Regions from separate parts of the Homo sapiens genome. Here all the other regions are linked to region 2. Evidence: promoter capture Hi-C in 16 types of primary human blood cells and fetal thymus (Javierre and others, 2016). All regions are on one chromosome and are shown on one strand. The core of a region is centred on a gene start or on the middle of the fragment in contact, and the rest is flanking DNA. Distances in the headings are between cores, read along the strand shown. Region 1 holds the start of RUFY3 (RUN and FYVE domain containing 3). Region 2 holds the start of ANKRD17 (ankyrin repeat domain 17). Region 3 overlaps MOB1B (MOB kinase activator 1B). Region 4 overlaps GRSF1 (G-rich RNA sequence binding factor 1).

What was found. The method cuts DNA at HindIII sites, captures the fragments that hold promoters and counts their contacts. A CHiCAGO score of 5 or more calls a contact.
Region 1: a contact is called between a fragment that was not itself captured here and the fragment with the promoter of ANKRD17 in region 2, in 2 of 17 cell types (naive CD8 T cells and total CD8 T cells). The highest score is 7.9, in naive CD8 T cells.
Region 3: a fragment that was not itself captured here is called in contact with the fragment with the promoter of ANKRD17 in region 2 in 1 of 17 cell types (non-activated CD4 T cells); the score reaches 6.4 in non-activated CD4 T cells.
Region 4: a contact is called between a fragment that was not itself captured here and the fragment with the promoter of ANKRD17 in region 2, in 1 of 17 cell types (activated CD4 T cells). The highest score is 6.4, in activated CD4 T cells.

Annotation. Positions count from the first base shown.
Region 1 is chr4:70,719,889-70,726,841 of GRCh38, forward strand. RUFY3 (RUN and FYVE domain containing 3) reads left to right here and starts at 2,076. Exons shown (of 18, transcript NM_001037442.4): 1 at 2,076-2,863. The coding sequence starts at 2,686. The HindIII fragment of the contact is 1,757 bases long and covers 2,566-4,322 here.
Region 2 is chr4:73,254,575-73,261,775 of GRCh38, forward strand. It overlaps ANKRD17 (ankyrin repeat domain 17), which reads right to left and starts at 4,224. Exons shown (of 34, transcript NM_032217.5): 1 at 3,702-4,224. The coding sequence starts at 4,094. ANKRD17-DT (ANKRD17 divergent transcript) reads left to right here and starts at 4,592. Exons shown (of 5, transcript NR_187399.1): 1 at 4,592-4,834. RefSeq lists enhancers at 1,376-1,876, 4,277-4,873, 4,476-4,745 and a silencer at 3,916-4,315. The HindIII fragment of the contact is 8,436 bases long and covers 1-7,201 here.
Region 3 is chr4:70,979,910-70,986,525 of GRCh38, forward strand. MOB1B (MOB kinase activator 1B) reads left to right here. Exons shown (of 6, transcript NM_173468.4): 6 at 2,071-6,616. The coding sequence ends at 2,148. Among named protein-coding and RNA genes, the nearest start is that of DCK, 10 kb to the right of the region's middle. The HindIII fragment of the contact is 2,733 bases long and covers 3,945-6,616 here.
Region 4 is chr4:70,832,855-70,839,729 of GRCh38, forward strand. GRSF1 (G-rich RNA sequence binding factor 1) reads right to left here. Exons shown (of 10, transcript NM_002092.4): 1 at 6,617-6,875; 2 at 3,304-3,460; 3 at 264-419. It overlaps LOC124900710 (a long non-coding RNA gene), which reads left to right and starts at 6,138. Exons shown (of 3, transcript XR_007058131.1): 1 at 6,138-6,291. RefSeq lists enhancers at 5,739-6,393, 6,394-6,875 and a silencer at 6,444-6,875. The HindIII fragment of the contact is 4,947 bases long and covers 632-5,578 here.

The DNA of each region.
Region 1 (6,953 bases), core at 2,194-4,693, 2.5 Mb before region 2:
AGTGAATATCTGTTGAATGAATGAATGAATGAATGGCTCTGAGTCTAGATGTAGGGTAATGATGAGAGAGAATGAGATAGAAATAAAACCAGGAGTATTTTGCTTTCCTTAGTAACTTACTGATTTTCCCCAATTATAAATAAGCCTATATATATGCCTTCTTACATTGTACCAGTATACCCTCCTTCTTTTTTTTATTTTGAGACAGGGTAGAGTGCAGTGGTATGATCTCGGCTCACTGCAGCCTCTGCCTCCTGGCCTCACGTGATTCTTCCACCTCAGTCTCCCAAGTAGCTAGGACCACATGTGCGCGCAACCATACCTTGCTAATTTTTGTTTTTGTAGAGATGGAGTTTTGCCATGTTGCCCAGGCTGGTTTCAAACTCCTGAGCTCAAGCCATTCACCTGCCTCAGCCTCCCAAAGTGCTGGGATTACAGGCACATGCCACCACATCTGACTAATTTTTGTATTTTTAGTAGAGATGAGGTTTCACCATGTTGGCCAGGCTGGTCTCGAACTCCTGACCTCAGGTGATTTGCCCGCCTTGGCCTCCCAAAGTGCTGGTATTATAGGCATGAGCCACCGCGCCCAGCCATCCGCCCTGTCTTCGTAACAATATGAAAATGCCAGTTTCTCTACAGAATTTGATTATTAGCATTTTTTTCTTTCAGTTCAGTCTCAAATTATGATGAAGCATTTGAGATTTTAACAATATTCAAGGAGAATTTTTTTAGTTTTCAGAAATTAGGTAAATCAAGATGTCCCTCTGATAACAATCCCTAGAAAGGAATAGTCTCAGGTCATATTTCTTGAATTTGTATGTTCCTCCTTAAAATTGGAACCCTTCAATACAAAAACAAACAAACACTTTCTTTCAATTGTCCAAAACATTTTCAAAGAAAATTCTTATTCTTCTCTTTGTAATTTATGTAGTTCATAAAGCAAGTACCTGCCCTTTTGCTACCAAGGTATAAATGCCTCATTGGATAATATAGGGCCGTGTGTGTGTGTGTGTGTGTGTGTGTGTGTGTGTGTGTGTGTGTGTATTAAGAAAATATAATTGTCTTCAGTATCTTATCGAATGGGAGGATTTTAAAAATATAACATGGTTTAATCTGCTTAGAAACATATTTCATGCTTAAGGCTGGGCATGGTGGCTCACGCCTGTAATCCCAGCACTTTGGGAGGCTGAGGTGGGAGGATCATGAGGTCAGAAGTTCAAGACCAGCCTGGCCAAGATGGTGAAACCCCGTCTCTACTAAAAATACAAAAATTAGCTGGGCGTGGTGGTGGGTGCCTGTAATCCCAGCTACTCGGGAGGCTGAGGCAGAGAATTGCTTGGACCTGGGAGCTGAGATCACGCCACTGCACTCCAGCCTGGGCTACAGAGCAAGACTCTGTCTCAAAAAAGAAAAAAGAAAAAAAAAGAAACGTATTTTATGCTTAATACAGAAACTTGATAAATACAACAAAATCAAAAAGGGGGGAAATTGCCATTAATTGGGAAAGATTTTACTTTTTTAACTTGAAGTTTTTTTTTTGCATTTCTGCCTAACCTAAAAGGTCAGGTTTTTGTACCTTGGAGAAGGAAATTATAAATGCCCAAGAATAAGATATTTAAATTGAAAATCTACTTTAGCTTTTCTTTTTATCTTTTTGTTTTTTTTCCCTCTGAGAACCTCAATTTTTTATGCTTTAGCTTTTCTTAAAACATAACATTTAGCATAGTAAAGAATTTTAATAGCTATGTAGATAAGAATGAAAGAGGTGAATTATATGCTTGTTAAATTAATCTAACTGCCTCTTTTACCATCTTTACTATAGATTATTATCCGGTATTAATTGTCATCCTTTTATTCAGTCCTTGATCCCAAAGTAAGAAGAATTGATGAGGATATGTGCATTGTGTTATGTCTGATCACAGTTTGACTAGCACAGTCTGGAAGTGGGTTGTACAGGATGAGAGAGAGAAGCCTAATTGCTCTCCCAGCATCAGCAGCATCTATAAAGCATCCTGGGAATTGCTTGCCCTACGTTCAGAGCAGCTGGTCACATGAGCCTGAATTTTCAGTTCAGTTCATTAGTCAGCCATTTTGGTCAACACCCTGCTTACTGCGCACGGCCAATCCTATGAGAACTCAGCATCCCAGCTCATCTGAGCAGATCCTGGAAGTGATTTCTGCAGCTCAGGATTTTTTTTTTAAGCTACATTGAAAATATAGGTTTATTTTTTGTTCAGGTTTTTCTTTTATATTTTTTTTCTGCACAAAGGAGGAGGATTTTTCACTTACTCATATCGAGGCCAGATTTTTAAAGCCAGCTAAGGCAGCATCAGCTGTGCGGGATTTAAAGCCTATAGCTCAGCTGAAAAAAAAGGTGGGGGGCAGGGAAGGGAAGATAAAAGGAGAGGAAGCTGGGAGAAGACAAGCATCATCTTATTTTGCTATGTGGTAGGAACTGTCTATAAGATAGTGTAGAATTGTTTATCTTGAGCAGTTTGTTCTTAACCTATAAGGTATTTTTCCTTTTTTTTTTTTTTAAACCTCCCCCACCCTTTTCCTGAAAGCTTTGTTTCAGAGCTTTGTATTGGGTTTTTTTGGTGAGGAGGTTGTATTTATTTTTTTGGTGTGTGTGTGTGAGTGTGTGTGTGTCTGTGTGTGTGTTGTGGTCCCAGCTGAGTCATCATGTCTGCTCTGACGCCTCCGACCGATATGCCAACCCCCACCACTGACAAGATCACACAGGCTGCCATGGAGACCATCTACCTTTGCAAATTCCGAGTGTCCATGGATGGAGAATGGCTCTGCCTGCGAGAGCTGGATGACATCTCACTTACACCTGACCCAGAGCCTACCCATGAAGGTATGGTCAGATCCTGTCCGCTAGTATTTCACCAGCATCCTCATTGTTATGGGGGAGGGCTGGGAGGATCAGGGAGAGGTAGAAAGAACCTACACTCTCAACTGTTAACAGTCCTGAAAACCTTGCATCCTTACTTACCACCCAGCTCCCCTTCTCTTGCTCATGGGGGAAAGATAATTTTTTTTCTTGCCCCTTTAGGTATCCTTTCAAAAGATGCTGGATACTCGTTTAGAGTTCTTTGTCTTTAAGCCTCTAAATAAAACATTTGAGGTCACTTATCACATCTGATTCTATTCAATAATGAGAAAGCTATTAATTTTGTTCATATATGAAAATGTTATAGAAATTGTAGTGATTTATAACACTAAGTTAAGACAACATGACTATAATTATAGGATTGTACATGATGAATACAGTAGAAACACCAGGGTATTTGGTAATGGTATCCTCACCATTATATGAGGATACAATTTTAAGCAAGTTATGACATCTAGGAAATGTTTGATAAAACATTTTTTTAACAATATGGATTATTAGGTTAGATGAGAAAATAACTTTTCAGCATTTATTTATTGAATATGGACTCCTAAGAAAGCATAATGCCTGGAAAGGTTAAATATGATTAATATGGCATCCCTATAGATTACAATAGAATGGTAATATTGGAATCTATTGGCCATTGCTTTTTATAAATTATTTGTGGTAACTATTATGATCCATTTGAGATTTCCACTGTCAGTACCTCTGAGATCTTTGTGGTCTCTTGACTTGCGACTTTTTTCCAGGACTCTTGCTAATTTATGAGAGGTTTTCTGCTTCTACCCTTTAATTCTCTTAATACCACAGAAAGAGAGCTGATTTGAATCATAGCTACAAATCGTTTTGTTTTTAATACAGTTGCTTCTTAGCTAAGGTTTATTCTCTGTCCTTATACTGATGAAAAAAAACAAAAAACGCTTGCATATGAGGAGAAATTCTTTATAAACATCTGCCTGATAGTTAGGCACATCGACAGGACAAAGAAGACCATAGGTGAATTGTACCTAGCAGATGGGGTTAGGAAAGGTGATTCTCTGCCTTTGACCTTGAGTTGAAATCTTATCATGACTCAGAATTTTCCCATTGTGTTTGATAAGCATTTTATCTTCCCAGTCAGCCTTAGCCTTGAGAAAGTTTTAGGGATGGTTAATAACACAGAACACAAAGCAGTCATTTTGGGTGTGTCTTTAAGAACAATGTTTAAGTGGTTTTTAAGACCCTTTGCATCTTTTAACAATTGGTTTGTTAATTAGACAGCTTTCTTTGGCTGTATGTTTCGTTATGTGCACAAGTTATAAGACATCAGCTGAAATTCCATGCAATGCCAGTACTATTTATTTTTTATTATTATTTTATTCTATATTTTCATCAAAACATCGTTACATCCAACAATTCCAGTACTACTTAAAACAGCCTCCAAAGCTTTAAAAGTCTTTAGGGAAGAAAAATACAGTTTTAGAAGGCTACCAAGAAGTCTTCTGGCAACTGCCTCAGTTTACATATTTTGTTTGAAAAAAATGTATTCCCGTCCAATTTGAGAGTTATACAATATGAAATATTCCCTTTATCATGAAATCTAGTTTACCAGTGTCTCAAAAATAATTTTTAACAATTTTAACACCTCAAATATATGTTTTTGGAGCAGGATTCCTATGGATAAGCAAAAGTGAGCTGTTTGGTTCATGTAAGCGTTTTTAGCAGCGCCATTTGAATTCTTCATAGAGAAATCTGTAGCAACACATTTCTCAGTATGGAAAATGTGTGAGAGCTATAATCTAAGTAATAAATTGTATGTCTGCTGATTAAAGAAATCAGATAAATACAGAGTTTCCAAGACCTGTAATCAACTATAGAGGATTTGGAAGAAAATAGAGAAATGCCGACAGTGCATTTTAGAATTTTGCCTTAAATTGGGCAAGAAAGCTATTATTTTAAATTACTAGAAATGAAAATAAAGAAAGCATAGTCCCATGAAAGCCTGTGAGTATTACTGCCTTGCTCCATTACCAAACTCTGGATATTTAAACAGTCATTTGGTCCCAAGAAATACCCACTTTTATGTTAATACCACTGATAGTTATTAGATTTAATTTAGCTATAAGCATTTAAGTGGTGGTCACCAGGCCCATGATTATGTGAATCTCACCTTGTTCACAAAATGGAACTCCTGATGTCTGGACGCGGGAGTATTCAGACTGCTTTCCGGGCTGATTCACAGAGGGAAAAACATCTGACCACCCAAATCCTAGAGTGAAGTCTCCTCACTCCCACAAAAGAAAATAGGCAAACAGCATAATGTTCCCTCTTAAAATGATGTAGACTGACTGTGTGTACTCAGCAATAGAGGCTCTGTGGCTTCCATATTTTATTTTCTTAAAACCAGAGTTCCTGGCCCTTCACTGAGCAGTCCGCAGTATAGGCCTGGACCTAGAGTTTCTGCCTACTTTAACCCTTAAATAAATGAAAATAAAAGCATTCACTTCATTATCTCAATGCTTATTGGTGGTCAATGAGGGATTATCTCTCTTTTGTCTTATATACTCTTTTTTTTTTTTTTGAGACAGAGTTTTGTTCTTATTGCCCAGGCTGGAGTGCAATGGCGCAATCTTGGCTCACTGAAAACTCTGCCTACCGGGTTCAAGCGATTCTCCTGCCTCAGCCTCCCAAATAGCTGGGATTACAGGCATGCGCCACCACACCCAGCTAATTTTTGTATTTTTAGTAGAGACGGGGTTTTTGCATGTTGATCAGGCTGGTCTCGAACTCCCAACCTCAGGTGATACACCCTCCTTGACCTCCCAAAGTGCTGGGATTACAGGTGTGAGCCACCATGCCCGGCTTATATACTCTTATTTTCAAAAGCCAACAGCAAATCTACAACAAGTTTAATTGCAAATAGATTTCCCCTAAAGGCAAGAGCCTGTGATTGACTCCACAGGAGAAGGGTCAGGAGAGGCTTCATTAAGTGAGACCTTAAGAGATAAACAGGTGATCACCAGACCGACATAGGGAGGGCATTTCAAACAGTACACAGTGAGCTGGCCCAGCCAGGGAATAGCAACAGGAGCACAGAGGGCTTCTGTTTGGCACAACAGGGAGCAAGACTGGAAAGATAAGCAGGGGCTTGACTGTAGAAATCTTATTCATACTGAAAAGCCTGCACTTGATTCTGTAGTGAAAAGCTACTGGTGCTTTATGTCTGGGAGTAACATAAAATAAGATTTGTGTTTGGAATGATCACTCTGGCAACAGTGTAGTGAATGGATCAGAAGGATATAAGCTCTCAGGGACCCCTAACTATAACTTTTAAAATGGTCTGGGTAAGAGATGACAATCTCACATTAAGGTAGCAAGAGTGAACACCAAAGGAACAATCCCTGGAAAAGCAGAATGTACCCGATGACTGAGGGGCTGGGTGGCTGGAGAATGAACATAAGGCAGTGCCTGGGATGACTCTCCAACTTCTGGCTGCAGAAGCTAGGTTCCCTTTACCAGTAGGGAATATAGAAGGAAGAGAACATTTGAGTTGTTGATGCTTAATAGATTGTGACTAACAAAAGCACTACCATCACTCTTTTTTTTCTTTTTTTTGAGACAGTTTCGCTCTTATTGCCCAGGCTGGAGTGCAATGGCGCTATCTCAGTTCACTGCAACCTCCACCTCCCAGGTTCAAGCAATTCTCCTTAACTCAGACTCTCCAGACTCCCCAAGTAGCTGGGATTACAGGCATGCGCCACCACGCCCAGCTAATTTTGTATTTTTAGCAGAGACAGGGTTTCTCCATGTTGGTCAGGCTGGTCTCGAACTCCCGACCTCAGGTGATCGCCCGCCTCAGCTTCCCAGAGTGCTGGGATTACAGGCGTGAGCCACCGTGCCCCGCCCATTACTCTTTCAGTTGAGCCTTCTACCCGCCCCACAGAAGCATTAATCAGATTTATACTTTTCCAGATTACATATCCTGGCTTAAGTCTGTACCCTAATTTACATTAAGAGTTGGAATCCTCACATGGAAAGGCGGGGGTGAAGATAAAAGGAGTGAGACTTAAATGGA
Region 2 (7,201 bases), core at 2,974-5,473:
CTGGCCAACATGGTGAAACCCTGTCTCTAATAAAAATACAAAAATTAGCCAGGCCTGGTGGCGGATGCCTGTAATTCCAGCTACTCGGGAAGCTGAGGCAGGAAAATCATTTGAACCCGGGAGGTGGAAGTTGCAGTGAGCCGAGATCAGACTGTTGCACTCCAGCCTGGGCAACAAGAGCGAAACTCCGTCTCCAAAAAAAAAAAAAGAAAGAAAAAATACTAAGATCATTCAGTCATATTCAAAAATGCATTCAATAGAATGCAATGTTATTTCTAAAATAAAGTATCAACTCTTGAAATTATAAGATTTTTTTCTTGTAATAGTCAAAAGCAATTTAATTAATTTTGTCCACTAATTTGAAAGAGCATCATGGCTTTTATGTTAGAAAATATATTTGTATTTTCCATATTGGTCAGTCACTCACTGAAAACCAAGAAAATTATGCATTTTCAATTTTAAATGTAAGATTTTGTGTCAAATAGATGGGGAGAGGGAGGCAAGTAGCTCTTGGTCTTATTTGTTTCCAGGTATACCCGAAGTTATGCAAATTATCTAAGACGTGATTACCCTATTCTGAAATACTTTAAAGTAAAATCCTATTCTCAATAACCTACTCCAATGTCTAGAAATTATATTCTTATTGTTCAACAATTAAATGAAGCTCTTATTTGAATTGATTCTCGTTTCCTTCCATTTTTCCTCTTTTGGCAGATACAGAGATTATTCAGATAGCATTTCTTTATAGCAAAGCTATGTATTTTTGTTAAATTAAAGTTATCCTTTCAGGTTAAATACCACAAAACCATAACCTTTCACATTCCTTTTTAATCTTTTGATGATTTTTACTGGAAGGATAATTTTAAAGATCATTTTATCTACTTTTTTTTATTGTGTAGCCTATAACAGAATGAATTAGAGAAAAGACAACACTGTGATTTTAGCCACAAGACTTCCTAGCTCCAGAAAGTTAGGCTTCTGCTGACATGTCAGTAAAATGGTAATTAAGAGAAAAACATTACACAACTCACCCATTTAGCTTACAGTTTTATTTGTCTTTACTTTGATCAAAAGATGAAGATGGGGCAGAGACAATCTGTACTCCTTTTTGTCTGCTCATCCCTCATCTGTATAGATTTTTTAAATGGGTACACTTTTTTTTTTTTGAGACAGAGTCTCGTTCTTGTTGCCCAGGCTGGACTGCAATGGTGCAATCTCAGCTCACTGCAACCTCCACCTCCCGGGTTCAAGCAATTCTCCTGCCTCAGCCTCCCAAGTAGCTGAGATTACAGGCATCTGCCACCACACTCGGCTAATTTTTTTGTATTTTTAGTAGAGATGGGGTTTCACCATGTTGGCCAGGCTGGTCTCAAACTCCTGACCTCAGGTGATCCGCCCGCCTCGGTCTCCCAAAGTGCTGGGATTACAGGCGTGAGCTACCACGCCCGGCCAATGGGCACACTTTCTTACACGTATTTCTCCTGACTCATCTTCATAAATGACAAACCCATTGTTTAACACCATGTAAAAGACAGGATAAGGTATGTTAAAAACATAGAAATACTACCATAGTTGGTGAAAGTCAACATAACCATTCCTATATTACAAAAGGAAAACAAACCTGACCCACAAAATAAACATACCTACAAACTTACAGCCATTCTTCATGATTTAAGGAATTACTAAAAGTTCTGCTTATTAGGCCGCATTCCAATGGACAAAACTACCTAGGTATGTTAAGTTTGCAGCAGAATATCCCAGTAAGTACTGCATTCAACTATCATAACCTTGCTCTAAACCAGAGCTTAATAGTTTCACGAGAATTTAAAATTTTAAGTAATGGTATTTTGCCTATAGCTGCATGATTGTGTTACCTTGCTATTCAGTAACTATTTTTCTGAATGATATCAGGAGGGTGATAAAAGGAAATAAATTATTATTAAAAAGTGTACAGGTCTGAGACATTAGAAAACTTTGATTTGTACTTTTGCTACTACCCACCACAACCACTTTCCTCTAAACCTTGTTTTCCTCCTTTTTAAAATAAAGGGCTGAATTACCTGTAAAATGTTTCTCACCTTTGAGAAGAATCATACAATTGAATGATTCTAAGTACCATAACAAATTTTATTAGGGATAAGGACCCCATTACATCTTTCTCTTCCTTGTTTCAAATGCCGCCAGAGCAACACACTATCCTAAACATCCAAGTAGGCCAATATAAGTCTATCAATACAAACCTATTCTCAGAATCCAACAGGCTAAAAGGGAATAAAAACAAGGACTGGCATATTTTTGTCATACATACTTCAGCACTTAATATCTCTACCTATACAACTTCATCCAGTCTGAGATAAAAGAGAATCTGGTCTTCTACAAATAGACATGTGTCAAATCCTTTAAAAGGTACTTCTCTATTTCAACAGAGACCAGGATTCAATAATTCCAATTTTCGGAAAACCAGACTTGCATCAAAATAAGTTCCATGTTTGTGGAAGAGAATAAATAGTAAGTGGTACTTTTAGATGAATCACTTGGTCTCCTCTTAGAACTAAGTTTAAAATCAGCCTTTAAAGCTGTTTTCCCTCTGCTGATAAAGATTTCCCTCTCCAAATAAAGATTTTTCTAGATTCTATTTCAGGAAGGAGACAAGAGAGTGGTAAAACAGCTAATAACTAGTAAAGCTAACTCTCAGTTGGTTGTCAGTATGGTATGTTTTACTGAGCCTTTGGGTTGTAAGGGCTTCTGTGAGGAATAAGGTCCTGCAACGCCGCCTGTCTGTGGACCCAGGAAAAATTATAAAGTTATTATGAAACCAGATCACTAGGACAAACCGAGAGGCCTTCCTATTCCAACTCACCACAACCAGGCCTGGCTCCAAAGCCTACCCTTTGGCTGTCCCATATTACGGGACAACAGGTCCTAGCTTAATTCTAACTCACTAAGGAAACATTCGAAGGCATGTATGTATGTACGTGTAAGGATCAAATATATTTTTCATCCACTTACAAATGTATATGGTCATTTGTAATTATTTAAAGTTACTGATAAATTTATACAAATACAGCATCAGTTCATCGAAAATCCCTGGGAGATCGAGGAAATGAAGTTACTTCAGCAGCCAGGATAGTTACGAAAAACCCTGCAGAACAGTATGGAAAAGTACAGCTTCTCACGTGTCCCTCACATACACAAACACTTAGCTCTGAGTCCATTACAACCTTACGTCCCCCCTCAAACTGCTCCCCTCCACCTCACAACTGGGAGAAGTTGATCAACCTCCTAGTTGGTCCCCAAGAGACTCATTTACCCATTATTTTACTCCTCCCGCTTTGATCCCGATCCCGCCTCAGACTAAGGTGGCCCTACTGGCCCCAGGCAGACCACCCCCCCACCCCCCGGCGTGCAAACAGGGAATCTAACCAATTCCCTCCATCCTTAACCAAGTGAGCCATCCCATGATAACAGGCTGTTCACCAACTCTGTGAACTCCGTGGTCCTCCCACCCCCACGTGTCAGCTACCCTCCCCCACATTCCCACACCTCACGATTTAGGCCGAGGGAAGAAAGGGGGCAGTCGAAAGCCTGGCCCCTAAGAGATCAACCCACTGGAATCTGTCCCACTCCAAATCCCCTCCCACCTTCGGCCCCTATCCCTTACAGTCCCTTCCTCCCTCCTTCCTTTGAAACCAGGCCCTTGCCTCAGAAACCTCCTCTTCCTCGTCGTCGTCGTCCTCTTCTTCCTCGCTGTTGTTACTGCTGGTGCCGCCGCCGCCACCTCCGCCTCCACCGCCGCCTCCACCGCCGCCGCTGTTGTCGCTGTCGCTGCTGCTTTCGCTGCTGCTGGGGGGTCGGCAAGTCCGGTTACGCTTGGCCTTGTGGTGCTGCTGCTGCGGCGGCTTCTTCTTCAGGAGCAGGTCGCAGACTCGCACCATCCCACGAGGAGACGAGGCCGAGCGAGCTCTGCTGCTGCCGCCAACGCCGCCGCCGACCTCCGCCGCCGCGGGGGGGCCCGCCACAGCCGCCACCGCCGGGGGGCTCCCTTCTCCTTCTGCAGCCGTCGCCGCCGCCACCGGAACCGTCGCCTTCTCCATCCCCAGGGAAAGAGGGAGGGCGCGGACGGGGGAGGGGCGTGGGGCTACGCTCTACCGCGACTTCGGCCGCACTGGGGCCGACACAGCAATCGGTGCCGCCTCCGCCGCCACCGCCTCGGTCACCTCTACTGCCGCCGCCGCCGCCGCCGCTCCGCCAGCTCTCACCTCGTCTCGCGATACTAAGGGCGGGGAGCCTGACGATGGGAGGGAGGGAGGGAGGGAGAGGGAGGGAGCAAGGGAAGGAGGGTGAGGCGTAACAGGGAGACCGGGTGTCGGGAGAACCAGAGGAGAGGAGACTGGAAAGAAGCGGGGAAGTGTGCCTGGGGCAGCTTCCGAAGGGGAACGGCGGGGACAGATGAGGGGGGCGCGATTGCAACCAGAGCGCCCGCGAGCTCCCGGATTTCTTCTCTTTCCTCGCTATTTCCCGCACACACAGCCCTGCAGCCCTCCCTTCTTCCTTCCTGGCTTGTGATTAGAACGCAGCCGCAGGCGGAAGTGCAGTGACGCCATCAGCCGTCGCCTGAGCCGTGGCGCGCGGGTGGCCGAAAGGCGAAAGTGAGATTTCAAGGGCCGGGTCTGGGGCCCCGCGGGCGCGCAGTGCTGCGGCGTGTGGGGAGTACGGGGAGGCTGGAGAGGAGCCGGCCCCGGGCAGTGTGAGGTGCGGAAGCGCGGTCCAGACACTTTGCTGACGGGAGGCCGGTCCGCCAGATCCGGGAGGTGGGGCCTCGTTCTGGACTGCTGTACGTAGTTTTATTCCTGGTCATTTTTTTCCACCGCCAAATCGAGAGATAGAGCTTTGGATCATGAGAGATGGCGTCGTGTTGGGAAAAGAGCCTTCTTTACCTGAGTTTAAGCTCGGCTCATAGACATCCTCTACCTGAGTTTACACGTGTGTAATATGAAGGCAGTCGATTAGGAGATGTCTAAGATCATTACTTACACCTCAAGTTTCCAAGGGGAGGAAGACACGGGAAGGATGCGTGGTCTGTGCCAGACTTTGTAGACGATTCACTGAATGACCCTGATTTAGCTCTTCCGGCCCTCTTCGATTCAGCTTGGAAGCAAGCATAAATAGTGATTGTTGTCTGTATACTTCTCTCGGAAGGAATGCTGTTATGGGAGTTGTGGGTTCATTTTTAGGTGTCTGAAGAAGTTTCAGGACTTTTGAAATGATAGTGGAGCCCATTGAACTCAGAATTATCCCTTTCTGGTCTAGTAGGAGTATAGTGGCATACGGAAAATGAAGCAAACATCAAAGACAGATGTACTGGCACAAGATTAAAAGTATGTCTCAGCTGACATAGTTGCCATTTTAAGACTGCTTAGTTTAGCTGAATATGCCTGGATTTTTTTTTTTTTTAGCATTTTTTTTCTTTTTAGCATTGGCATACCATATGAAATGTGGGCAGTTGCCAGTACTCTACAGAGTACCAAGGCAGAATTGGCAATGACTAAATCAATTCATTCAAACAAAAATTCATCATGTGCCTACTGTGCGCATAATTTGTGGAATCAAAGTCTCTTGTTTCCAGGGGCTTTACAGTGTAATAAGTGCTATAGTAAATATATATACGGAGTGGTAACCATCTGCCTATTCCTCTCCTACAGTCGTTGCTGAGTTCCAGTGTAGAACAGAGCACTGCATTGTGTATCTCACCACTACTGATTTAGATTTTATAATTTCAGCTGCATCCCTCCCTCCTACTTTGTATATTCTTCAGCATCTTTTTCTCCCTTTCCACTTGAATACTTTTCGCAATCTTTAAATCCCAGCCCATTTTATTATATGACTTTTAACTTAGACTTCACAATTTTCCAAGTGCTAGAAATTTCCTGAGATTGCCTTTTCTCCAGTATCAACGAATGAGAGACTCCCTGTTCATATATGAGATAAACTCTTCATACATATTCTAGTTCCAATACCCCTCTTTCTCATGCATTTATTATCTTTTCTGTTGTCAACCTTCTACAAATTCTGGTTCCTTAGCTAATTCTTCTGTAGCTTTCAATTATTTCCTTCACAAGCAAACTTTCTTTCTTTAAAAAGTATTCTATACTCAGGAGGCTGAAGCAGGAGAATCGCTTGAACCTGCGAGGCGGAGTTTGCAGTGAGCTGAGATCCTGCTACTGCACTCTAGCTTGGGCGACAGAGCGAGACTCCATCTCAAAAAAAAAGTGTCTACAATCAGTGTCTTTTTTGTTTTCTGAAATTGACTTGTCAGCCCTCTGCAGTCTAGTCTCTGTGTCTATCGTGCTGTGCTACCAAAAATGCTCTCTTTAAAGTAATCTCATTGTTTGGAAGAAAATGAGTTTTTTGTTCTTTAATATAATAGTGAAATGATGATCCTGTTTCACTAGTAGGATAAGGTTCAAAACTATTAAAATGGACAAGGCATGTAAAGTCACTTTCTTTTATTTTTATCTTTTTTTCCCCCCGTTAGAACCTCTGGCAGGGACTGACTAGCCCATGAAACTTATTTCTTCTTCCCGGGCACACAGCTAAACTAAATTTCACAGCTTTCCTTGTAGTTGGTTATAGTCATGTGATGAACTTCTTTTTTTGAGACAGAGTTTAGCTCTTGTTGCTCAGGCTGGAATGCAATGGCACAATCTCAGCTCACCGCAACCTCCGCCTCCCGTGTTCAAGCGATTCTCCTGCCTCAGCCTCCCAAGTAGCTGGGATTACAGGCATGTGCCATCACACCCGGCTAATTTTGTATTTTTAGTAGAGACACGGTTTCTCCATGTTGGTCAGGCTGGTCTCGAACTCCCGACCTCAGGTGATTCCCCCACCTCGGCTTTCAAAGTGCTGGGATTACGGGCGTGAGCCACCGAGCCTGGCCGTGATTAACTTCTAGCCAATTAAATATGAATGGAAATGATGTGCTCATTTTTAGGGTTAATGAAGTCCTCCTATTCTCCCTTACTCTTTCTTCGTCAACTTGATGCCTTTGAGCATGGTGACCTTCAAAACTATGTATTGGAGATGCCAAAGCCAGAAAAGAGAAGAATGAGTGGCTGAAACAGTACTTGGAAGACAGCCACCCCAATTAGAAACACCCCTTTTTGCACTTACTGTAAGAGAAAAAATTGAGATTTGAGAATTT
Region 3 (6,616 bases), core at 4,061-6,560, 2.3 Mb before region 2:
ACCATGCTCTAATAATAAGAGAAATAACAGGCAAAAATGAAAAAGAGGTGGAAATAAAAGAGCTGACCAGTTTTTTATTGTTGCTATTATTGTTGTTGGAGGTTGAGAAGGGGAGATGGTCATCAGGAGAATAAACAATTAAACATCTTGAATTCGTGTTGTTTTTGTATATCTACAGGCATATATTTATAAATGCCTTTGCCACTTCCCCTGTTCTCTTAAGAAATTTGTATCCATCTTCCCCCTGTACACACTCCTCACACTGAAGGCACACATTTTACCTATATAAACATACTTTAGGAGATTGTAACTTGCCAAAACTGTTGCTCTCAACAGTTACTTTACTGTGGTATCCCATGTCCAGAACTCAGGAACAAAGAAAATGTTGTCCTAAAGTTTGCATCTGTGTTTGGTTTAGGCAGAACATGATTGCTAAAGTTCAGGTTGTGGTGGTTTAAGAGAGTATATTCTCCCTCCAGAAGGGTTAATTTTACTGGACTCAGTGATCTTACACTGTGTTTCCCAACTCCTAGCAAATAGCAAGGGATTGATACATAGCATTTACCACATCTGATTCTGTTTGTATCTCAGGACACTGTGAGCTTCTTAAAGGTAGGTCCATTATACAGTATCACTGTTTGATTAAGTAAGGGGGGCACCTGCCTTGGGCCCCACAATTTAGAGATACCTGCTCTGGTCCTTCTGCTGCCTGCACCCCTCCCCACAGAGTGAGGAATCCATAGGGCTAAGAATATGCCTACCTAGATCCCTTCTGTTGCTTGCTTGGGTACCTGAAACCCAGAATTCTCTGTCCACATGGTCCAAAATGTATTTCCAGGGTCTCCATGCATCTTTTTCTGGGCTCCATTCTTTTGAGGGCGGGTCCCGTCTCTGATATGTATACCTCTAGGCCTGAGAGTTTGCTGATGGCAGCTGTTTCTGAGGGCATGTGGACATTACCCAAAGTGTCCACACTCGTATGTGAGACCTCTTGAGGTGCAGGGTGGATGGGGTTGGAAAAGCAGGGAGGTTTTCTGAGGGCTAGGCACCTGGGGCTGGCTTTCCTCATGTCACTACTTTCCAGTGCAGAATCCTGAGGAGTCTGGAGAATTCTAAGTTTGAATCTGTTCTCCTGGTCGCTGTGAAAGTATATTTGTTAAGGTAGGAGGATAGAGCATGTTTTACTTAACAACATTCTAGCTTAATATAAAATTTAGTAATTTAGTCATATGATATATACCCATTTGTGTTTTTGGCCCAGACTCTACAAATCTTGGGCTTGGTCCTGTTATTAAATATCCTCTAATGCTTCTCTCCAGTATTTAACTGTAGTGCTTGGCATATGATAGATGCTAATAAATGAATTAAATTGAAACTAAGAATGCCTTACCATGGCAGAAGATCAGAAGTGTAGACAAGCCTCTATTTACTAGCCTTATAGTTTATAGTTCAGGGGAAATCTATTCAGAAGTGAACTTCAGAATGACGGGTGGAATTTCTAAAGGAGCACAAATTAAATTCAGGCTTTCTCATTTGTTCTTCACAGGACTTTAATTTATCATTTGTGGATTCAGCCATATTCGTGTTATTTTCCTACCATATCTTTTGATAGCTTGCAGATACGTTAGTTTGTAACCAGGTTTTGGCTTTTCATATAATGCTGAATTTGCCTGAGATGCTAGTGTTTTGTGTGTGTGTCTATGTCTACTTGGTTAACTGTATTTAAATGGTGTCCAGATCATTCCTTTCAACAGGAAGCAGCAACTTCCATTTATTGTTACTTTGTGTCAGGCATTACATGAAGTAGTTAACATCCAGTATCACATTTAGTCCCCACAATAATTTTATGAGATAGGGGGATTTATCCTAATGTCACAGATGTAAAAGCATAACATCAGGAGTGCTTAAGTGATTTACCCAAGACACAGACCTAGTGAACAAGAAAAAAATAATCTACTTTTATGTACTTCAAAAGCTAATTTCCAACAAATGTTCATGGTAATTTACTTTGGAATAAGATGCAAATAATGTTTTTGCTATTTATTCTGCCTTTCTTTATATCATGCATAGGAATTCAACCTTATTGATAGAAGAGAACTTGCACCACTCCAAGAACTGATTGAAAAACTCACCTCAAAAGACAGATAAAAGGATGCAGAGCTGTGCAAATTGTTCCTCAAATGAAGCAGTGTGGAGTGTATTGGGGATTTTGTTATATTTTGTTTTTATCTGGATTGTTTTTGTCCTAGGTTTGGGGGCGGGGGCTTGTTTGGGTTCCTTTTTCTTTATTCTGATTATGTGAAACCATATTCTATTGCTAGGGGAAGCCAAGAACCATTCTCTATACACTTGATAAGGGTAAATTTATCTTAGTGTTTTTAAACTTGGTTTTGGTTACTTGAGGAGTTTTTTAATAATATTGTGTGCTGCAAGAAAGTGCTTGTTGATTGAACTGCCGATGGATTGGTTTCTGTGTGGTATAAATTGTGGCCCATTTATGAAGTCCCCAAAAGAGTTATGTTTTTAAGTGCCTTGGCAGGCTCACTTCTGAGGTGCAAAACATAGATATAGAACTGAACAGGGCTTGAAACAATATTAGGATTACTACCCAGGGCACTTACTGGTGCATGTTGTAACATATCTATGATAAAAGCCATAGTTTACCTAAAATGGTGATTTCCAGCCTTTACTGCTTTGAAGAAACAGAATTTGTAAAGGTATGCATGTAGAACATAAAAAATATTTCTTAATTATTTTTTATATTGATGGTAATATATTACGTTCAACAATGCTTAAAGCTCTACAAGCAGGTCTTTTCCCACCTCTTGATATCTGTGATACTGAAACTTGAGGATGTTGAAATGTATTACATTTTGGCTTCTTTCTACATGTTAACTGCACTGTAGATGTAAAAATTCAGGTTATATATAGGATTGCCATCTTCAGAGGTGATGCTGAACTGTGAGGTTTCCTAGTAATTGCCAAATGAGCCGTAAGTCTGCAGAATTCCCTTCTACTTTGAAGAGAAGGGGATAGGAATGTATATTTGGCTGGGGGCATGGAGATGTTCGTATGTATGAGGAGTTAGGGATGGGGAGTCAAGTTCTAGAAAGTTTTGTCTGAAAACCTTTGAATAGAATGGCATGAAGATTTTAATCAATTACTTATAAACAAAGTCTTAGAGACTTCCTTTTAGGAATCAACTTCCATGAGAAGTTAAAAATAAATTATTAATTTTAGGTACAGACATTAAACATGGAATTTAAGGACTGTTGGGGGAAATTGATCACTTCTTAGCATTTCCATTCAGTGAATGGAGCTGATGTTTGCCTGTCATTTTAAGATGATACCATACCTTCTTTGGTTATTATAGGTCCAGTTTGAAGCATTCTGACTTCTGGTTTTTCCACCCTGAAAGGAAATGTTTTTCTTTGCAGCAGTATTAGATAATGAAAAATGCTAATTCAGTAGTTATTAACTTCTAAATTTTATTCGCCATGACTTTCTAGTGAATTATTACCATAAATAACAATTTCAGAAACTTAGTTTTTAGAATAAATATTAATTTTTCCACTTCAGTTTTATTCTAGAAAATACCCTTTTTAGAAATCCAGTTTTAGTTTTGTCATTTTCGATAAATCTTTCTTCAGTTAGAAATATATATCCTTCCTTCAGTTGAAACATATACCTTTTTCACATCTAGGAAGAAATGCTTGCTCTGAAATAGTATAGATTAAAAACACTCAGTAGAAAAGAATCTAAAATTAAATGAATTTGTTTTGCCATTAAAGTAGAGCAGTGATACAATTTAATGCCATTACAATTATGTTGACTAGAAACTGCCTTTTTCTCCACTTCATTTCTAGCAATTATTTACCAAGTACCAACAGTAGAAGTAACAGGAAAGCCTGGCAGAGTTAAATATCTTGGACATTTATTGGTAAAGCTTATTTATAAACTGCAGTCAGAGCTAGTTAATTTCCTTAAATCTTTTTGTATTCAGATAGATAATATGAATCATTATGGGTTGATTCAGAAATAAAATTTGTGAGGTGATTTTGAATCTTGTCCATATAGGAAAATGAAGCACAGAATTACTCAGTCTTCCATATTGTATTTGACTTCATATCAATCTAGTAAAAAAGGAGTTGCAATAGCCAAGTATAGAGAGAATAGTGAAAAATTAATCTTGCCCTTTCAAGCCTTATACAGTAGTACACTGTACTTGTTTTTAGTAGTAAGACCTACTTTCCCACTATATGTAGATAGTTTGTTTTCACTGTGCCAGAATCTCAGGTGCCTGCTTAGAGTATTTCTTTAATCACAGTCACTGGGAAGTAAGGAGATGTATATATGTGTATATATGGTAACAAAGCATAGCAGTTCTCTAGGGGAGAGGCCTGGCATTGCACATGGTGTTACATGGCTACAAGTAAGGAAAAAATCAGAAAGTGAAAGAACTGATGTAATAAAAGGTTGATTTGGTTGGTTCCCATGAAAGTTAGTAAGATGCCCTTTTAAATATAAGGATCAGTGCTTTGTTCTGCAGCAGAGTTTGCTGATAAATGTCTGTTGGATTCTTTTTGGATTTCTTTAATTAATTTGTAAGTAACCAAGATAATTATTTTCCCCCTTGCTCTCTATATTAATACGTAGCTATAAAGCAACAGTTGGTTTTCTTATCCTTTGATAAAAGCATCCCATAAAATATAAAGTAGTAAGTTAACATAGTATTATTGTCACACACAATGCTTTTTTTGGTTAAATGTTGATACGAAGCAATGTTTTGGAATTACTTTAATTGATGGAGTAGTGGTGGTAGAGAGAAATTAATAACAAAAAGAGTGAAAATATTTTAATTAGCAGTAGATGGTGCTACTGGCTTTCATTTGCTGACTTGATTATTCCCTTTCTCTTAAAAACCATGGCATTAGACTGCACTAAATTAACAAGCATGTTAGTTGCTGGTAGAGGTTTTGGAGGTTAATTTACCTTAAATTGGAAGACTTTTAATTGCAGTCTCTTTCTACCTTCCCTCTGTTAGTCATTTGTAAATTCTAAATGGTCACCATAAAATGTATTAGGTAGGAGAAGATACGTTTTATGTATAATATATCTCAGACTGAGTTACTGCCTGTCTTATCAGGATGGATAAAACACTACAGTCTCTTATCAGGAAATAGAGATGATGTGGATATTTATATATTACATATATAACCACCAGACTCCATTTTATATATTAGCATTTTCCTTGCTTATGGGAAAATAGCAAAACAACATTTCATTTATACTTTTGTTTACCCCTCTCTGAGACAGGTTTTGATAACCACTGAAATGGTAGAATATGTGAGATACAAATATTGAGTTGTAGAACTTTCTTTTTAAGGTGAATAAGTCATGCCTTAACATCCAAATAAGAGTTCATCTTCAGAGTGGTTCTTTTGGGAGCACTGTTTATTCCAGCTATACTGCAAAAGTATAATGTTTTTGGAACTGTTCTAGAGCATACCATGAAAAGCAGTTTGTTATTATGCAGGAAAATCAGTTTCATCATTTTAGTTACACTAAACACTTTTGGCAGCTTAATATGACCTTTTTAAATTTTTTTTATTTTTTTTATTTTTATTTCTTTAAGATGGAGTCTTGCTCTGTTGCCCGGGCTGGAGTACAATGGCATGATCTCAGCTCACTGCAACCTCCACCTCCTGGGTTCAAGCATTTCTCCTGCCTCAGCCTCCCAAGTAGCTGGGATTACAGGCAGCACCACACCTGGCTAATTTTCATATTTTTAGTAGAGATGGGGTTTCAACATATTGGCCAGGCTGGTCTCAAACTCCTGACCTCAAGTGATCCGCCCTCCCCAGCCTCCCAAAGTGCTGGGATTACAGGTGTGAGCCACCACAGCCAGCCAGTATGACCTATCTTAATCATCAGCTCAACTGTAATTTAAATTTGGCTGTTCTCTGGAGCTAAACCATTAGGGAAGTTCAAAGGAATGTGCCATGATTTCCGAATTTGCACAAGAGAATGTTTTAAGCATTGGTAGCATAATTGAATAAAAGAATAGTTTCCTGATGTCACTATTTTGAAGTGGAAATTATCACTTGGATGTGGAGGTTTTACTTTTTAAAAACATTCAGCTTAATTACCTTACCTTAATTACCTTAGTTAGATATACTAATGGAAAAAAACCAAGTCCTTTCTCTAGAACTTGTTTTCTATTTTTGTTCCTTTTCATGAAAACTTCTCAATTTAATTTTAACTACTGTAGGATAGTATTGATTGAATGGATACTATGGAAAAGTGGATCCAATATTTAAGATAGAAGTAGTTTAAGGAGACAACAGCCTTTACTGCCATTTTTTTTTAAATGTTTTCACTCAGATGAACAATTTGACTTTAATAAAAGACTGGAGATTTTTGTACAAAGAAATAGGAATAAGTTTCATATACTAATTATGCTGAGTTTTAAGCCTACATATCACAAAATATTTAGAATTGTATAACCTTTTCATATATTTATAACTTTTAATGTCTTTTTAAAAGATGTGGGACCAAAAATATATTTATAATTTGGAAATGTGACTGCATACCAATAAGAAAACTTACCTTATTT
Region 4 (6,875 bases), core at 1,855-4,354, 2.4 Mb before region 2:
GGAGAATTGCTTGAACCCAGGAGGCAGAGGTTGCAGTGAGCTGAAATCGCACCACTGCACTCCAGCCTGGGTGACAGAGTGAGATTCCATCCCCCCCACAAAAAAAAGAAACTTTATCTCTTTATGTTTTATTTTCACATCCTATAAAAGAATGCATTCATACAATCTAAATACTTCATTATTAAGGATCAAATAAAAACTACCTTGAAAAGTATAAAACCTAATGCAATGATCCCAAAAAGCCATAATCTGACTTCACATACCTTCCACATACCGCTGGCCCATGTACATGCGGTGCTTCTCTAAGGCTTTCTGCACATCCTGCTCTGACTCCATTTCAATTAAGGCATCACCCCTTCGTTTCCCATCTCTGTTTAGGAGAAAATGTATTCCATTCTCACCGTTGCGGATTCTGCAGTCTAAAAGTGTATGAGCAAAATCAATTGAAAACAGAAATCAAACTTTTAGCTCAATTATGTAAGTCACAAGAATGCAGTTTTCCAACAACAAAGCAGGAAACAAGTGTCATATTCCTTACACAAATCCCCATCACTGAAGTCATCCAAACACCAATAAGGATTTAGTCTCTAAAACCTTCCAAGTAGAAAAGATAAGCAAACCTTAGCACAGAAGCTTATGATCTCCTTCCTGATCATTAAATAGCAAATCAGGATAGGCCCAACACAAAATTCATTATTTCTATTGCAATGTTTCTACAATCACTTAAGGAAATACAATATAGTTAAATTTATACATAAGTGTCTTCCTTTAAAATCATCTCCATAGGTCTCTAAAATATTTCCTGTATGAGTAATTTTATTACCATAGTTTAACTTTTTGTTTTTGTAGAGAGGCGGTCTCATTTTGTTGCACAGGCTGGTCTTGAACTCTTGGGCTTAAGTAATCCTCCCACCTTAGTCTCCCAAAGTGCTGGGATTACAGGCATCAGCCACCACACCCAGCCTTTTTCCCCTTTTCATACTGCATACTTTTTATAATGGGAGTAGTCCAAGATGTAAGTGGCCAAGTGGCTTTAAAAAAAAGTTTGACCAGGCTCACTCTGGGCATACTGCCTAGGATTTACTCCTGCTCCACAAGGAGCAGCTAAAAAAATTAATGAAATAGCCAGGCATGGTGGTTCATGCCTGTAATCCCAGCCCTTTGGGAGGCCAAGGTGGTGGATCACCTGAGGTCAGGAGTTTGAGACCAACCTGGCCAACACGGCAAAACCCTGTCTCTACTAAAAATACAAAAATTAGCCGGGCATGGTGATAGGTGCCTGCTGTCCCACCAACTCAGGAGGCTGAGGCAGGAGAATCCCTTGAACCCGGGAGGTGGAGGTTGCAATGAGCCGAGATTGCGCTACTGCACTCCAGCCTGGGTGACAGAGCAAGACTCCATCTCAAAAAAATTAATAAAAATAAATCATAGTCAGATACAGAAACTAAAAAAAAAAATCCCACAGATATGTAAACCCTCCAAACATGTTATTAAGGGAACTTTATTCCTTGATACTAAGTGACCTTCTATTGTAAATGTCTGTATTACATAAAGAGTCACCCTTAATTCCATATTTCCACTGACAGGCTTGACTTTTTGATATGTATATATTAATACCACAGAGAAAAATAATTTCAAACCATGTAATTTTGTTTTTCAACTTTTATTTAGTACATGTATAGGACTGCTACATAGGTAAACCATGTGTTATGGGAGTTCGGTATACAGATAATTTAGTTACCCAGGTAGCAAGCACAGTACCCAATAGGTTTTATTTTTCTTTTTGAGACAGAGTCTCTCTCTGTCACCACGGCTGGAGTACAGTGGTGTGAACTCAGCTCACTGCAACCTCCGCCTCCCAGATTCAAGCGATTCTCCTGCCTCAGCCTCCCAGGTAGCTGGGACTACGGGAGCGTGCCACCACGCCCGGCTAATTTTTTTTGTATTTTTAGGAGAGATGGGGTTTCAACATGTTAGCCAGGATGGTCTCGATCTCCTGACCTCGTGATCCGCCCGCCTCGGCCTCCCAAAGTGCTGGGATTACAGGCGTGAGCCACCGCACTTGGACCCGATAGGTATTTTTTAATCTTCTCCCCAACCCTCAAGTTGGCCCTGGTGTCTTCTTGTTCCCCTCTTTGTGTCCATGTGTTCTCATTGTTTAGCTCCCACTTGTAAGTGAAAACATACAGTATTAAGTTTAATGTTCCATGTTAGTTTGCTTAGGATAATGGTCTCCAGCACCACCCACATTGCTGCAAAGCACATAATCTCACTCTTTGTTATGGCTACGTAGTATTCCATCATACCAGCCGGGCACGGTGGCTCACGCCTGTAATCCCAGCACTGTGGGAAGCCGAGGCAGGCAGATCACAAGGTCAGGAGATTGAGATCATCCTGGCTAACACGGTGAAACCCCAGCTCTACTAAAAATACAAAAAATTAACTGGGTGTGGTGGCAGTCGCTACTAGGGAGGCTGAGGCAGGAGAATGGTGTGAACCCGGGAGGCGGAGCTTGCAGTGAGCTGAGATCATGCCACTGCACTCCAGCCTGGCGACAGAGCGAGACTCCGTCTCAAAAAAAAAAAAACCTACATAGTATGATGGATTTTTTTTTTTTTTTGAGACAGAGTCTCACTCTGTCGCCCAGGCTGGAATGCAGTGGCACCATCTCGGCTCACTGCAAGCTCCACCTCCCGGATTCACACCATTCTCCTGCCTCAGCCTCCCAAGTAGCTGGGACTACAAGCCTGGGTAATTTTTGTATTTTTAGTAGAGACGGGGTTTCACTATGTTAGCCAGGATGGTCTCGATCTCCTGAGCTTGTGATCCGCCCGCCTCGGCCTCCCAAAGTGCTGGGATTACAGGCGTGAGCCACTGCGCCTGGCCCATACTATGCAGTCTTAACGTTAAAATACTTTTGTTGCATTCAAAGTCTTTATACATATGTAAATTGAGACAGTCTCACAGTGTTGCCCAGTGTGGTATGGAACTACTGGCCTCAAGCCATCCTTCCACCTTGGCCTCCCAAACTGCTGATTACAGGCCTGAGCCACTGCCCCTGGCCCAAAGTCTTTCAATTCGTTACATACCGCAAACAGCACACATGGTATCATTTGGTATATGCAACCAACCAGAATGAGACAGTTCCCAACCATCAAAAAGGAAGGTGACAGCGTAGTCTGACATGGATTTGTAGCACTACCTTTTACTCAGACAAAATTACATACTTAAAACATACATACCTGCTTGTGAGAAACAATATAAGGAAAAAAAATAAATAAATAAAACATACATAAAATATACCTGAAAAAAAGTTAAGCACATCTTCCATAGTGCATGACCAGGGCAGTCCTTGAGCTCGAATGAGAAAGACATCATCCACTTCCTCTTCTAACTTGGACGGGGCCAATTCATACTCAGGGGGTGGTGGAAGGTCTTCCAGGTAAGTAGTTTTGGACTCCTTCCAAAGGAAATGAAGAATTGTAAAAAGAGTTGCATTTACAGGTAAAAAATGTAAAAAAATTCTTAGAAAATGTTTATTCTACAAACTAACATTCTAGATGTTATTTCAGAAGCAAAAAGTAAACTTCACCAATGTAACCCATCCTGTTTTGGCTTAAATTGTACATCCAAAAGCCATAAGCAGGTATATCCTAAAGGTTTGGCAGGACACAAATTTCATTCAGGGTTTGTTTTAAAATTCATCAACCCCAAATTATAGCTAACAATAGTGTAGTTAAGGCAACACAAGAAAGGTCCTGACAATTTGACAAATATTTGATTGCCCCTACACACAGTGTTTGCCGCCCTCATCTGAAATAGCTATCTAGAATACGATAAGCATACAAGATGAGATACTGAGTGCTATAATTAAGATACAAAATACTACAGGAATTCAAATCAGAGCACTAACAGATGAATCAGGATGTGACATGAGATGGGCCTTGAAGGAAGGATAGAATTTTTATGAGGATATAAAAGATAGGGTATTCCAGTTTGAAGGCGAGAGAAAGAAGCAGTACGACCAAATGCCCATTTGAATAACAGCAATTAATTCCAACTGTTTAAATTAGGAGCCAAAGAAGGTGACCTGGCAAAAGAGGTTGGTACCATAGAGCAGAGGGCCTTGAGTGTGGAGCTCAATGTGTGTCCTTCACTTGGTAGGCAAAGATAAGTTAATACAAGACACTGAGGACTGGGTAAATCAACAAGACAGCAGGACGCCTTGGGAATATTCCTCTGTCAGCTGGTATGCCAGACCAAGTGATTAAGGGAAAGATCTTAAAGACAACGGCAGCAGTGTGAGGCTACAGACTTGTAAAGTCTCTTTTATCGGATTAAGTAAAACTGGAATTTAGTAAGAATCCACGAAGCACTACAACCATAACCTAAGAAGACAACTCAGGCTTTAAGACTTGCACTCTACTGGGCCAGGTGCGGTGGCTCACGCCTGTAATCCCAGCACCTTGGGAGGCCGAGGTGGGCGAATCACGAGGTCAGGAGTTCAAGACCAGCCTGGCCAACATGGCAAAACCCCATCTCTACTAAAAATACAAAAAATGAGCCGGGTGTGGTGGCGTGTGCCCGTAATCCCAGCTACTCGGGAGGCTGAGGCAGGATAATCGCCTGAACCCGGGAGGTAGAGGTTTCAGTGAGCTGAGATCTCGGCATTTCACTCCAGCATGGGCAACAGAGCAAGACTCCGTCTCAAAAAAAAAAAAAAAAAAAGACTTGCACTCTACCGGACTAAGGACAGAGATATCTTTCTACTATCTGTCATTTTCTTTTCTTTTCTTTTTTCTTGAGACGGAGTTTCGCTCTTGTCGCCCAGACTAGAGTATAATGGCACAATCTCGGCTCACTGCAACCTCCCCGGGTTCAAAGGATTCTCCTGCCTCAGCCTCCCGGGTAGCTGGGATTACAGGCGCCCGCCACCCCGCCCGGCTAATTTTTTTGCATTTTTTTAGTAGACACGGAGTTTCACCATGTTGGTTAGCCTGCTATCGAACTCCTGACCTCAGGTGATCCACCCGCCGCAGCCTCCCAAAGTGCCGCGCCCAGCCCTATCTATAATTTTCATTAAGGCTTAATGTTAGGCCGGGCGCGGTGGCTCACGCCTGTAATCCCAGCACTTTGGGAGGCAGAGGCGGGCGGATCACGAGGTCAGGAGATCGAGACCACGGTGAAACCCCGTCTCTACTAAAAATACAAAAAATTAGCTGGGCGCAGTGGCGGGCGCCTGTAGTCCCAGCTACTCGGGAGGCTGAAGCAGGAGAATGGCGTGAACCCGGAAGGCGGAGCTTGCAGTGAGCCGAGATCATTCCACTGCACTCCAGCCTGGGCGACAGAGCGAGACTCGGTCTCCAAAAAAAAAAAAAAAAAAAGGCTTAATGTTTAGTTTTAAGGAATAAATGTAAGCAGTGTCTAACACATAGTAGATGCTCTACAGATATCACCGCAGTCAATTTCATAGAAAAAAAAAGAGAGAAGCTAGCTCACAAAGGTTTACTGGAGATGGTTTTGTTGTGGTTTTTGTAGACAACTTTCCCCATTTTTCCATAATTCCATAAGCATCACAAGCTTTTACAGAAAAAGGCAGCGTAAAGTATTGGGCCAGGATTCAAATCAATTAGCTCAGCCACTGGCAGACAGCAGCCATGCTGATTAGCCTCCCAGTCTCCCTAAGTTAAAGGAGAAGCACAAATTGAATTAAGATAAATATGACCTAAGGAATCAGGGGCTGGGTAGTTAAAAAGTGTGCAGACACTTCCCAGATGCCACGTACCAAGAAGAGAAAGGTTCATCTACAAAGCACAAAATATTTGCAATCTAACTACACACCGACTTTTCTAAAAAAATAAAGAAAAAATGGAAAGGAAAACATTGCAAATTCATTCCTGGGACCCCAAGTTGTGTCCTCAACCCTCAACGCTCCCTCCCATTCACCCCCTCCCCCCAACAGCTAAATCTCCAAACTGCTTTCCCAGACGAGGCGACACACAGTCCTTAAAGACCTTCTGTATGAGTGGAGTTGCAGAGGTGACCTTCAGTAAACCGGGACAGCTCGTCTTTCCCTGGGGACAGGAGAGGGAACGGCGCGATGGGGACAGGCTCCTTCCCTACAAGCCAGCCCACGCAACTGTGTGCGCGCACCTTCCCAGCAGCGGCCGACCGAGAGGCGCCGAGGGCCGCCCAGGCCTAGCGCTCGGGCTGCACGGAAACTCCCAACCCTCCGGCGGGCTCGGGCCTCGCAACTTCACAACCAGCCGGCGGAAAGCAAGAAGATGCGAGGTGGGGGCGTCAGCAGCCTCACGAAACCTACCATGGGCCAGGCGGGGAACAAGGCCTCAACATTCACCCCAGCCACACTTACACTGCCCAACCGACCAGAGACTCGAGGCGAGAACAAAACAAGCAGAAGACCCGACGCCTGGGAGAGCTTCCCTTGTTCCAGGGCCCAATAGGAGCACAGGGTGGACGGGGGCGGGTGTGCGGCGAGTGTCGCGGATCCCCGGGCGTGCCCGCGAGGCGCACACGGAGGGACGGAGGGGCGCGGGGGCGCGTGCACGCGGCCCGGGAGGGATCTCGCGCCAGGTCCCTCACGGCGCCCACGTACCTGGCTGTAGCTGCGCGTCGGGACGGCGGCCGCCGCCGCCAGCGACTGCGGCAGCAGAGAGGCACGGAGGGCAGAGTAGGACGCGGCGGCCGCGGCCGCGGCAGAGGTGGCCACAGCGGGAGGCCCCGCCAGCCTCCCGGGAGGCACAGGCCCGGTCTGGAGGCCACGCGTCTGGGAGGCAGCGGCCGCGGCGGCCCCGAGCAGCAGCAGCAGGCGGCGGCGGCCCGAGACGCCCGACGGGATAGAGCCAGCGGCGGAG